2 separate regions of the Homo sapiens genome follow, and region 1 is linked to region 2. Evidence: promoter capture Hi-C in 16 types of primary human blood cells and fetal thymus (Javierre and others, 2016). All regions are on one chromosome and are shown on one strand. The core of a region is centred on a gene start or on the middle of the fragment in contact, and the rest is flanking DNA. Distances in the headings are between cores, read along the strand shown.

The links. The method cuts DNA at HindIII sites, captures the fragments that hold promoters and counts their contacts. A CHiCAGO score of 5 or more calls a contact.
Region 1: the fragment with the promoter of UBLCP1 here is called in contact with the fragment with the promoter of FEM1C in region 2 in 1 of 17 cell types (fetal thymus); the score reaches 22.8 in fetal thymus.

Annotation. Positions count from the first base shown.
Region 1 is chr5:159,261,141-159,266,764 of GRCh38, reverse strand. It overlaps UBLCP1 (ubiquitin like domain containing CTD phosphatase 1), which reads right to left and starts at 3,475. Exons shown (of 11, transcript NM_145049.5): 1 at 3,405-3,475. RefSeq lists enhancers at 3,235-3,742, 3,499-3,808, 3,839-3,908, 3,743-4,250. The HindIII fragment of the contact is 1,074 bases long and covers 2,779-3,852 here.
Region 2 is chr5:115,540,967-115,546,713 of GRCh38, reverse strand. FEM1C (fem-1 homolog C) reads left to right here and starts at 1,939. Exons shown (of 3, transcript NM_020177.3): 1 at 1,939-2,191; 2 at 3,031-3,764. The coding sequence starts at 3,221. RefSeq lists silencers at 1,649-1,988, 2,089-2,138, 2,189-2,358 and enhancers at 1,788-2,082, 1,624-2,390. The HindIII fragment of the contact is 1,787 bases long and covers 965-2,751 here.

The DNA of each region.
Region 1 (5,624 bases), core at 2,226-4,725, about 44 Mb before region 2:
GCCATGGCTGGAGTGGCTGGGATACAGGGCACCAAGTCCCTAGGCTGCACACAGCGCGGGGACCCTGGGCCGGGCCCACGAAACCTTTTTTCCTTCCTGGGCCTCCGGGCCTGTGCTGGGAGGGGCTGCCATGAAGGTCTTTGACATAGCCTGGAGACATTTTCCCCACGGTCTAGGGGATTAACATTAGGCTCCTTGATACTTACGCAGATTTCTGCAGCCAGCTTGAATTTCTCCACAGAAAATGCGTTTTTCTTTTCTACTGCATAGTCAGGCTGCTAATTTTCCAAACTTCTATGCTCTGCTTCCCTTATAAAACTGAGTGCCTTTAACAGTACCCAAATCACCTCTTGAGTGCTTTGCTGCTTAGAAATTTCTTCTGCCAGATACCCTAAATCATCTTTCTGAAGTTCAAAGTTCCACAAATCTCTAGGGCAGGGGCAAAATGTTGCCAGTACCTTTGCTAATACATAACAAGAGTCACTTTTACTCCAGTTCCCAACAAGTTCCTCATTTCCATCTGAGACCACCTCAGCCTGGACCTTATGGTTCATATAGCTATCAGAATTTTGGGCAAAGCCATTCAACAAGTCTCTAGGAAGTTCCAAACTTTCCCACATTTTCCTGTCTTCTTCTGAGCCCTCCAAACTGTTCCAACCTCTGCCTGTTACCCAGTTCCAAAGTTGCTTCCACGTTTTCGGGTATCTTTTCAGCAATGCCCCACTCTACTAGTACCAATTTACCGTATTAGTCTGTTTTCATGCTGCTAAGACATACCCAAGGCTGGCCACAGTGGCTCATGCCTGTAATCCCAGAACTTTGGGAGGCTGAGGCAGGTGAATCACCTTAGGTCAGGAGTTCAAGACCAGCCTGGCCAATGTGGTGAAACCCCATCTCTACTAAAAATACAAAAAAAAATTAGCCAGAGGTGGTGGTGGGCGCCTGTAATCCCAGCTACTTACAGTTCCACAATGGCTAGGGAGGCCTCAGAATCATGGCAGAAGGTAAAAAGCACTTCTTACATGGCAGTGGCAAGAGAGAATGAGGAAGACAGAAAAGCGGAAACCCCTGATAAATCCATCAGATCTCATGAGACTTATTCACTTATTCACAAGAATAGCACGGGAAAAATCGGCCCCCATGATTCAATTACCTCCCACTGGGTCCCTCCCACAATAAGTGGGAATTCTGGGAGATACAATTCAAGTTGAGATTTTGGTAGGGACACAGCCAAACCATATCAATCAGAAAATACAAAACCCATGGGTACAGATCTAAGCACACAAAGATTATATAGTGGCTGCCACTCATGTAAATAACCAAACATATGTCTCTTCCTGCATAAAGCTTTCTATTTTTCATTAAACTCATTCCTCCCACAGTCCAGAGAACTGGATTTTCTAATCTCAAGGTATTGGTATTTCCAATGCTTTCACTTATTTGATGAAACATTTGATTGCACTCTTCATGCAACTATTAGGACCAACTGCAAGAAAGAGGTTAAATTTTTAATCTCCACTTCCAAAAATAATTTAAAAACAGTGTCTCCTACTAAAAGGCCAATTAGAAGAGAGAGCCATAAATTCATATTTATATTTACTCATATATGAATACAAATATGAACTATAAATGTATATTTACTCCTATGTTTACAATGTGTTCTACTGAAAATGTAAAGCAAGTGTCTTAATTTAGGGTAACGTATTCCATTTTAGACAGAACTATAACAAATGTTATATTCTTCAATTAAAAGTGGACCTTTTGAGTTAAACTGAAATACAGTTTAAATATTTTCTGTAAGACATAAGAATAAAAGGGAATCCTACGAGAGCTAGAAAGGCAACCAGCACTAATATCGCATATATTGTGATGCGTAGTAGTGCAGAGTTTGGAGTGAAATCATCTGAGTTCCAGGTGACCCTGGACAAGTGATTGCTCTTCTAGACTAGTGGTTTTCAAAGCATGGTCCCTGGGCTAACGAACAGCATTGACCTCACTTGGTAATTTGGTAGAAATGTAATTGGGGTGGAGAGAAGGGACCTAGGAATCTGTGTTTTAACAAGGTCAGTCCTCCTCACCTCTGATGAATGCTCAAATTTGAGAGTCAGTACTACAGGCTCTTCAATGTTTTCAGCCTTAAAAAAAATGTGCCAGAGGGCATGGGCTCTATATGGTTAATAAAGCAGCATAAAAACGTTACGAAGCACCTATCCCACAAGTGGAAATTCCAAGTTGGCAAATGCCTTAAAGGGCCAAGCGAAACAAACACCATAAAAATTGTAAATGCATATGTCTTTAAGATTTGTTTAAAAGTTACTGAACCTTATTTCATCATTAAGACCGTTCACACCAATGAAGCAGTGTGATATAAATGCATGAGCTATTTTGCTTTCACATTTAACCTTCTTTCTTAGTATTTTGTATCATTTCAGATCCCATCAGATTTATAAGCTGAAAAATGATTTGGGGTGTGGGGAGGAGTGAAGTTGGCAAACCCAAACAAGCAAGCAAAGAATACACTTCCATATGGTCAACCTAGGGTCAAGAATAGCTGTTTAGGTTGGAGTTCTACCTAACATACTGTGTTGACTTTGCCTAGTCAATCCACCTCTTGGCCTCAGTCTTCTCAACAAGATGAGGCTACTAATATTCACTGGACAGGAGTAGTGTTAAGGTATGAAGTAACACCTGTGACAGCACTTTGTAAACTGTAAAACACAATACAAATGGTGTTCATGATGGAATAAAAACATGCTAAACAATTATCTCATTGAAGCTTCACAATCCTGAACCAACAGCTGTTGTCCTCATTATACAAATGAGAATCCTGAAAAGAAATTAAACTTGCCCGGGACCACAAACCTAAAAAGTGGCAAATGAAGAAATTTTAAAGTATAGCAGTAAAAGTAACACTTTGGGAATTAACGGGAGGTTAACTTTCAACAATCCCAGCAAAAGATAACCGTGAAGCACTAAGAACTCCGGCGAGAACCGCACACCAGCAACAACTGCGAGGTGGTGCAGGGTCGGGGGCTGTGCTAACTGACTTAGGGGAGCATTAGGAGGCAGGTGGAGGCTCCAGAACCAAAAAGGCCGGGATGCCTTCAACAAGGAGGTTGAGGGGAGGGATGGACAAGCCTGAGAAGACGGAGGAATGAAGTTTGGGGACGCAAAACCCACTGGGAAACAGAAAGCCCTCCAAATAGGCTAGACTGCTGGATGGGAGGACAGCGGCCCCCGCGACTAAGCGGGCCGGGGCTAGGGGCCTGGGCGTCAGACTAGGACAGACACTATCCCCAGCCCGCCGCAGTGCAAGCCACGCCGCGCGGGCCGCAAAGCCACTGTCCCCGAGCCCCAACAGCGTCTCCAAGGGCAGCGCGCCAGGGTGCCCCGCAACCCCTCACCTGGAGCGCGGTGGAACCTGCGGCAGCGGACGCAGAAACCGGCCGCTGAGAGACCGAAAGCGACCGGAAGTGAAGGGCGGGACCGGAACCGGCTGAAAAACCGGAAGTGGGTGGTTTGAAACGGAAATATGTTGGGGACGGAACAACTGCTTCCTTTGAATCTCTTCGGGTGCTAATCAAATGGCCGCTGTAAGGGATCTCCACAAAGCCACGAAGAAGCCAGGCCTTTCCGAGACTGTAACCGCTGTGCAGATAGCGCCGATCCCTGGGTGGCCGCTCTCTCGTTCTGCGCGTGCGCTCGTTCTGGGCTGGGAGCGGATGGGTGCTGAGGCGTGTGACGTCTCTAGTAGTGTCGTAACTGGGTGTGCTGCCTTTTCCAGGTGTACTGAGGTCTTCGTGAGATTCAGGGCTAGGACTCGTGTGGCTGTGTCATGTTCCGAATGAAGCTTAAAAGGTGATCTTTGAGAACTGAAGACTTGAGACCCCTCCATGGGCCCAGGGGCTGCCAACACTAATAATTTCAGAGACTTAGAATCTGAGGAGAATCTCCAATCTAAGGGGAAACGGAAGAGGGTCAGGAAAGAGAAGGGGCAAGCTTAAGTGACTCAGAATCCAAGAAGCAAGTCTCATAGGAGAGCTGCGATCGAGGTTACCATACAGTATCCAATCGTCTCAACCTTCCCATCCATACTTCCATGCTGTCTTTCCTCTGAATGCAAGGAAAACCGGTTACACAAACGCTGACAAAAGAATGTCAGACTTGAATGGAAATTCGGAGCAGTACCCATCTGGTCCATACAGCGAACTCCCAGTGAGCACCACGGCAATGTAACTAATTCATGTTTCCCTCTTGGCAGTGCGGGAAAGGCAGCAAAGAGCCAAGTTTTGTATCTTAACAGTTCTTTAGTTAAGAGGCACACGCTATTTTGCATTCTTCCCTACTTTTGATAATTTTTGGCTGCACTAGTAATGCATGAGTATCTGCTCATTTAAAAAACTCAAACTTTTTCAGTGAAAAGTATGCCCTTTTCTTCAGAAAGTCTTAATTAAAAAAAAAAAAAAAATCATTGCCCAGACCAACATTTTCAAGCATTTTCTCAAATCGTTTTCTTGGAATAGCTGCATAGTTTTGGGTCTTACATTGAAGTTTGGTGCTCATATGTGGGAGCTAAAAAAAAGTTGACTCCATGGAGATAGAGAGTAAAATTGTGGTTACCAGAGGCTGGGAAGGATAAGGAGGGAGAAGGAGATGAAGAGAAGTTAAAAGGAGCGAAAATATGGTTAGACAGAAGGAATAAGTTGTAGCGTTCCACAGCACAGTAGGGTGACTATAGTAATCAATAATTTATTTTGTATTTCAAAATAGAGGAGAAAGGTTGGGATAGTCTCAACACAAATGATAAATGTTGGCCGGGCACAGTGTGGCTCACACCTGTAATCCCAGCACTTTGGGAGGCCAAGACAGGCAGATGACTAGAGGTCAGGAGTTCAAGACCAGCCTGGCCAACATGGTGAAACCCAGTCTTTACTAAAAATAAAAAAAATTAGCTAGGTGTGGTGGCATGTGCCTTTAACCCTAGCTACTCGGGAGGCTGAGGCATGAGAATCACTTGAGCCTGGGAGGTGGAGGTTGTAGTGAGCCAAGATCATGCCACTGCACTCCATCCTGGGTGATAGAGCAAGACTATCTCAAAAAAAAAAAAAAAAAAAAAGAAAAGAAGAACTTTTGCCTCCTGTTGCTCCCTGGAGCCTCTCTTCTAATGTGTGGAGGATAATATACTTGTCCTTCATTCATGCATCTCTGTAGCAGCTAAAGATGCCTGGGAATTCCTCCATAGATTGTCAGGTCTGAGAGTCTAAATAATATATGGAAACAATTTCACAACATCAGATGACAAACTGTTAATATTACTGTGACCACATTTACTTTGGAAGATAAAAGGACATTCCTGCACCTAGGCCAGAAATCCCCCACTACTCTGCTTTTATCTCCATCTCCCCCAGACTTTTTTCTCCCCTTTTCTCTCTCTGGCCATTTTCTTTCTCTAGCAAGTGTGTTCTCTTGCCCAGCTCAGATCTACTCCCCTCAAAAAGCTTTCCCTCTCTTCCCAGTTGGAAGACAATCCTCTTCAAAAATTTAGTTCCCTCTAGAAGTTTGTCTCTCTCTTCTAATACCTACTCCTTTGCCTTTATCTTGCCTGCAGTAAGAGAGCTGAAAAT
Region 2 (5,747 bases), core at 690-3,189:
CACCATGTTGTCCAGGCTGGTCTCGACCTCTTGGGTTCAAGCAATCTGCCTGTCTCAGCCTCCGAAAGTTCTGGGATTACAGGTGTGAGCCACAGCAGAAATTGGTAGCCTTTAAACTAAGTGTCCGTCTATCCCTTAACAATCCCATGAGGGATACAGAGCTCAGTTTGAAGATGGCTGATGTGAATGTTTACATCTTATTGAATTAGGTGAGAGAGACAGGTCAGCTCAGGTTAGGCCTTGGTTGGGACACTGTACACTGTTATCTGTACCCTGGGAGAGTATAGAACTGTGACATATGCTGGGGATAAAACAGCCAGTCCTCTTGGCTGGTTAATTTTTATGGATGGTCAATCTTATCCTTTATACTCTATTCTTTTATATTTTCTTCTCAGTGGCAATTACCTTAACTTCAGTTTTGGGAATCTGATGTTGAGTGTAGTCTGATACTGACTACCTAAGGGAAATACTATGCTATACTTAAAAATTATTAAGACTGTAAAAACATAAGAAACGTTTAGAGTATAGAAAGGAAAAGCAAAATATATAGTTGTATGAAAATTATTTCAATTATGCAAAACTACATAAACTTCTGAACAACACTACAATATACAAAAATGAAGTTGTGATTTTTTATAAATGTTTTTAGTGCTGCATGACTTCTAACATAACGTTATGGATTACATATGCTGAGGGTCAGACTGCCTACTGTAATATTCTATTTCTCCTAGTGGTACTAAGGAATTATGTGAGCTTAAGTTCCCTCAAACAAAGTGATTGAAGGTCCATTTTCAAAAATTCTGTTTTCTCATCAGGATTCATTATGGGCGTTATTTCCCAAACACATTTAAACTTTTTCATCCTAGTTTAATGCAACGTAGGTTTTAGCATCAAATTCCAGAGGTTTATCAACTACTATATGAAGAAGTAATTCTTTTCATTCATATATATAACCTTTTAAGCTTTAGTTCCCGATTTATTACTCAGAGCTCAAGAACCTGACCTCATTGACTTTACATTGCTCTTAGGGTTTACCATTCCTCGTAGCCTTTATGCTTTTTAGAGGCTACTTTAGAAAGAGAGTCAGTTTGACAGCCTCCAAAACTAATCACATTTTCTGAAATTTCAGTTTCCTCCGTGTGTGTTCTGAGGTGTAATTACGAGCTTGGTAATTTCCAGGGCCCACCAAAGTAAGGACGGAAGACTAGTCCGAGAGACTTCACGTGTGTGAGGGTAATACTGGTCCGCACCCAAATTTGAATTTTAGCTCCCATGATTCCCACATATTGTGGGAGGGACCTAGTGGGAGATAATTGAATCAAGAAGGCTGTTTCCCCCATGCTGCTCTGGTGGTAGTGAGTACGTCTCAGGAGAGCTGATTGTTTTATATGGGGTTTCCCTTTTTCCTTGGCTCTGATTTTCCTCTCTTGCCTGCTGCCATGTAAGACGTGCCTTTCCCCTTCTGGCTTGATTGTGAGGCCTCCCCAGCCACGTGGAACTCTGAGTGCATTAAATCTTTTTATCTTTATAAATTACCCAATCTCGGGTATGTCTTTATCAGCAGCGTGAAAACGCACTAATACACTTCCCTTCTGGGGTCTCTGAGATGGGACCGAAAGATTCCCTAAGGGAGCACCCCGAAAATCCGAGAGGAGAAGAGCCAGCGAGATCTCAGAACTCGAGCTGCCTCGGGCCGCTTCGATGGGCACAGATCCGCCCCCTCGCAGCGCCCCGCCCCCCAGCGCGTTGCACGCAGGCACGTCCTCCCAGTAGTTCAGGCCCCGCCCCCTCCCCGTCGCCCCACCCCGGCCGCGACGCCCCGCCCCGCGCCTAGGCTGTTGCTGGCCGCGGCCGCCGCCCTCCCCCGGCCCAATGGCGTGGCGGCACAGTCAGTGATGTGACGCTCAGGCTTGTCCGGCCCCCGGCTCGCAGCCCATTACACCATCCGTCGCAGCAGTCGCTGCAGCCGCTGCAGTCCGAGCCGACTAAGGGCGGGAGGCAGCTCGGGTGGCGGGGCGTGGCGAACAGCGCGGCCGGATTCATTCCTTTGGGGCGCGGAGCATGGAGGAGCTGTGCGGCCGCAGGCGGAGCAGGGCGGCCCGGGCGGCGGTGGGGACAACGGTTTCCCTTTGAAGGGGACGGACAAAGCCCGAGTGACCAGCGGCGGCGGGGAGGACTAGTCCCCGGGCAGGTAGTGGCGGCGGCAGCGGCCTGCCAGGGCTCGGGCCGGGGCCTGAGGTGCCCGCGGAAGGCCTGGGCGGGAAGGAGGGCGCCGGGGGAGCCGAAGGCGGGCAGCGGGCTGGAGGCCACAGCTTGGCCCATCGGGAGGGGGTTGTGGTCGATGGAGGAGATTGGGAGGGGGCTGCCGTTGTCTGGAACAGGGAGAGGGGAAGGTTGTGTTGGGGCGACTGTGGTTTGAGGAACCTGCGGATCATCCCTTGGCGGGGGGTGGGGGGTGATCGAAATGGGGCGGGCGAAGTTAATGACTAAAAGGCAGGCGGATTTCCTGAGAGCCGTGAGTAGTTTTAAAGGAAAGAGAATCTTTCGGGGCACAGTTTTGGCCTTAGCCGGGGTTTGGTGTGTCCGACCTTTTTGTTCTTTCTCGAAACCCGGCCTCAGGCCTTCCAGCCTGGCGCCCTTGGCCAGCTCTCCTGCAGTTGCAAGAAAGAGAAACATTTCTGAACCCGAGTCTCCTGCCTCTTTCGGTTGTACTCTCCCTGGGCGTGTGCAAAGCAAAACTAGAACAAAGCTTGGCTGGTTAGAGCTGGAGGCGAGAAAACGGGCTGCCTGTAGTGTTTAAATTTTCCGCACATGGAGGAGACTGCCTGCGACCAGAACATTTGGGTCTCTGTGTATCCTTCTGTATTTTTCTTTACCACCTTTTCTTTGGGGGTGGGGGGGGTGTGTGGGATGGAGTAGTGCCTGAAGTATAGCTTTTATTCCTTTCTTCCCACAGAAGTGGAAATTAAGAAGTGTTTTGCCTTCTTCTATAGAAAATTAAATGCTGCTACTTTTTTTTTCTTTCTCTAGTTTGGTGCCCTGGTTGTCAGATGTTGGAAAGCAGTAGGACGGAACATACTCTTCGTGGTTGTGTATCCGTTCTGGGGTGCAGCAATTAACATTGGACTTTGGTTCCTGTGACTCTTGCCTGTGTCGATAGAGTTAAACTGGAGCTCTGCTTTGAAAGATAAATAAAGCACAGCCTCTCAACTGGACATAAATGGATCTAAAGACAGCAGTATTTAACGCAGCTCGGGATGGCAAACTCCGGCTTCTCACCAAATTGTTGGCAAGCAAATCCAAAGAGGAGGTTTCCTCCTTGATCTCTGAAAAAACAAATGGGGCCACGCCACTCTTGATGGCCGCCAGGTATGGGCACCTTGACATGGTGGAATTCCTCCTAGAGCAATGCAGTGCCTCCATAGAAGTTGGGGGCTCCGTCAATTTTGATGGCGAAACCATTGAGGGGGCTCCCCCTTTATGGGCCGCTTCTGCAGCAGGACATCTGAAGGTGGTCCAGTCCTTGTTAAATCATGGAGCATCTGTCAACAACACGACTTTAACCAATTCAACTCCTCTTCGAGCTGCGTGTTTCGATGGCCATTTGGAAATAGTGAAGTACCTTGTAGAACACAAAGCTGATTTGGAAGTGTCAAACCGACATGGGCATACGTGCTTGATGATTTCATGTTACAAAGGACATAAAGAGATTGCTCAGTATTTACTTGAAAAGGGGGCAGATGTTAATAGAAAAAGTGTCAAAGGTGAGTTCAGCTTCTTTGTTTTTCTAAATGTCTACCACTTATTTTCAGGAAGTTTGATACATCATTATAAGCACTGGTGTTGAGTAAACCAGCATTGACAGACCTGTTTTGATTAGGTAAGTCTTCCAGTATGACTTTGTTGAGTGTTTCTATGATGTTTGGTAATAGATTGAAAAAGTGTGATAAAAGACTTCTGTTACTCTGTTAAGCAGTATTTTCTCTCTTATTTGGAGTAACTTAAAATTCTTGGGAAATGGGTTCCCCAGAGTTACAGAGCATGTTAGTGGTAGCTGATCTGAGCCTTTAGGCTTATGCTTAATCTACTTGGGAATATGGTTAAATGTAATACATTTTTCTTAGCTTTTTGTTTTGTTTTTTTTTTTTTTAGAACAACCTTGGAGTAGAAATTACTATATTTATTGAGTCATGGTCTTGTTTGTTCTAGGCAGTCATTTCACTTTTTCTGTCAGAGAAGGCTAGGCTAAACTGACCTGGAAGGATTAATATCAGTGGAAAGGAGCAAATCTGTTCCCTTATTCTATATTTGTTTGTGGTCAATAGATAATCCTTTTATAAGAACATGCATTAAATATAGCAAGAGAGAAAACACATTTTTAAAACTGCTTCAATACTGAGAGTGAAGAACAAGGACTAGATTAAACAGATGTGGATTTGTTGGCTAGCAACAGTGTAAACACCTTTGTCCAGAAGAAGGGCTCCGGTTTTTGATTGTGTATAATTTTTGTTGATTGTAATAAACTAAAAGCAGCAAAAAGTAGTTTAGAATTTTTTTAACCCTTAAAAGCAACTGCCTTGATAGCATAATTTTGATACTTGAAAACCTTAACTTCCCTTACACGAATCTATTTATACGACAGCAAAATAATTCACTACCTAATTTTTAAAAGCCATTAAAATTTAAAAGTAGCATATAGACATGTTAAAAAAAATCAAACAGTGTAAATTGGTTTACATTGTTGGTTTACATTTGAATAAAAAGTCTTATTCCTGATTTCTAGATCTCTAATGCGCTGACAACCACTATTTACAGTTTTTTATGTGTCCTTTTAGAGTTGGTCTATGCAAATACAAGCATACTTGTCTATGTACAAGCATGCTTGTTTGTGTAGCCCTCCGTCTAGTGGTTGATTACATACTTTTTTATCTTTATTTATTTTTCTAACCTTGGATGTCATTCAACTCCAACACACATAGCTACCTCATTCTGTTTTGTGGCTATACAGTATTTCATTGTATGAATGTACATAATTTATCTAGTCTCTATTGGTTGATATTTAGGTCACATCCAGTACTTTGCTAATATAAACAATGCTGCTGTGAACATTCTTGAACAAAAATGTGTCTTTTCACGCTTGTGTGAGAATAACTGTAGTATAAATACCTGTGTTCAGAATTGCTAAATCAAAGTGAATGTACATTTGCAGTTGTGATAGTGTCTGCCTTTCAGAAAGGTTAAACCACACAATTATGGGGCACTATATAGTTACTGAGCATATTTGCTGTAGATTGTGTGATCTTTTATAAAAATGATACAAGTGTGATCTTTTATAAAAATGATACAAGATCATTGTGATTTTTCTGAATTTTTTTTTCCAGAGGAAGTGTAAAAATCCCACAAAATCCCAGTACTCAGGGATAATACTTCCAAAGATATTTCTGAATTTTGCATACTGATATATGTATGCAGTTTTATATGCTGTTCTATAACCTGTTTTTTAGCTTAATAAATGTTATCTTTAATATTACCAATTATAGCTCTTTAATTTCAATAGCTGCATACTCTTCTACTGATGGAGTTTTATGTTGCTTCCAGTTTTTCAGTATGATAAAAAATGTTTCTGTAAACATTCTTTCTAATAAGTGTTTTCATTTGTTCCTGATTATCTTTAGAGGTGGCTTGGTAGATCAAATGACAGCATGGCTTTTCTTTTTTCTCCAAACAATTATCATTCTTTTGAAGAA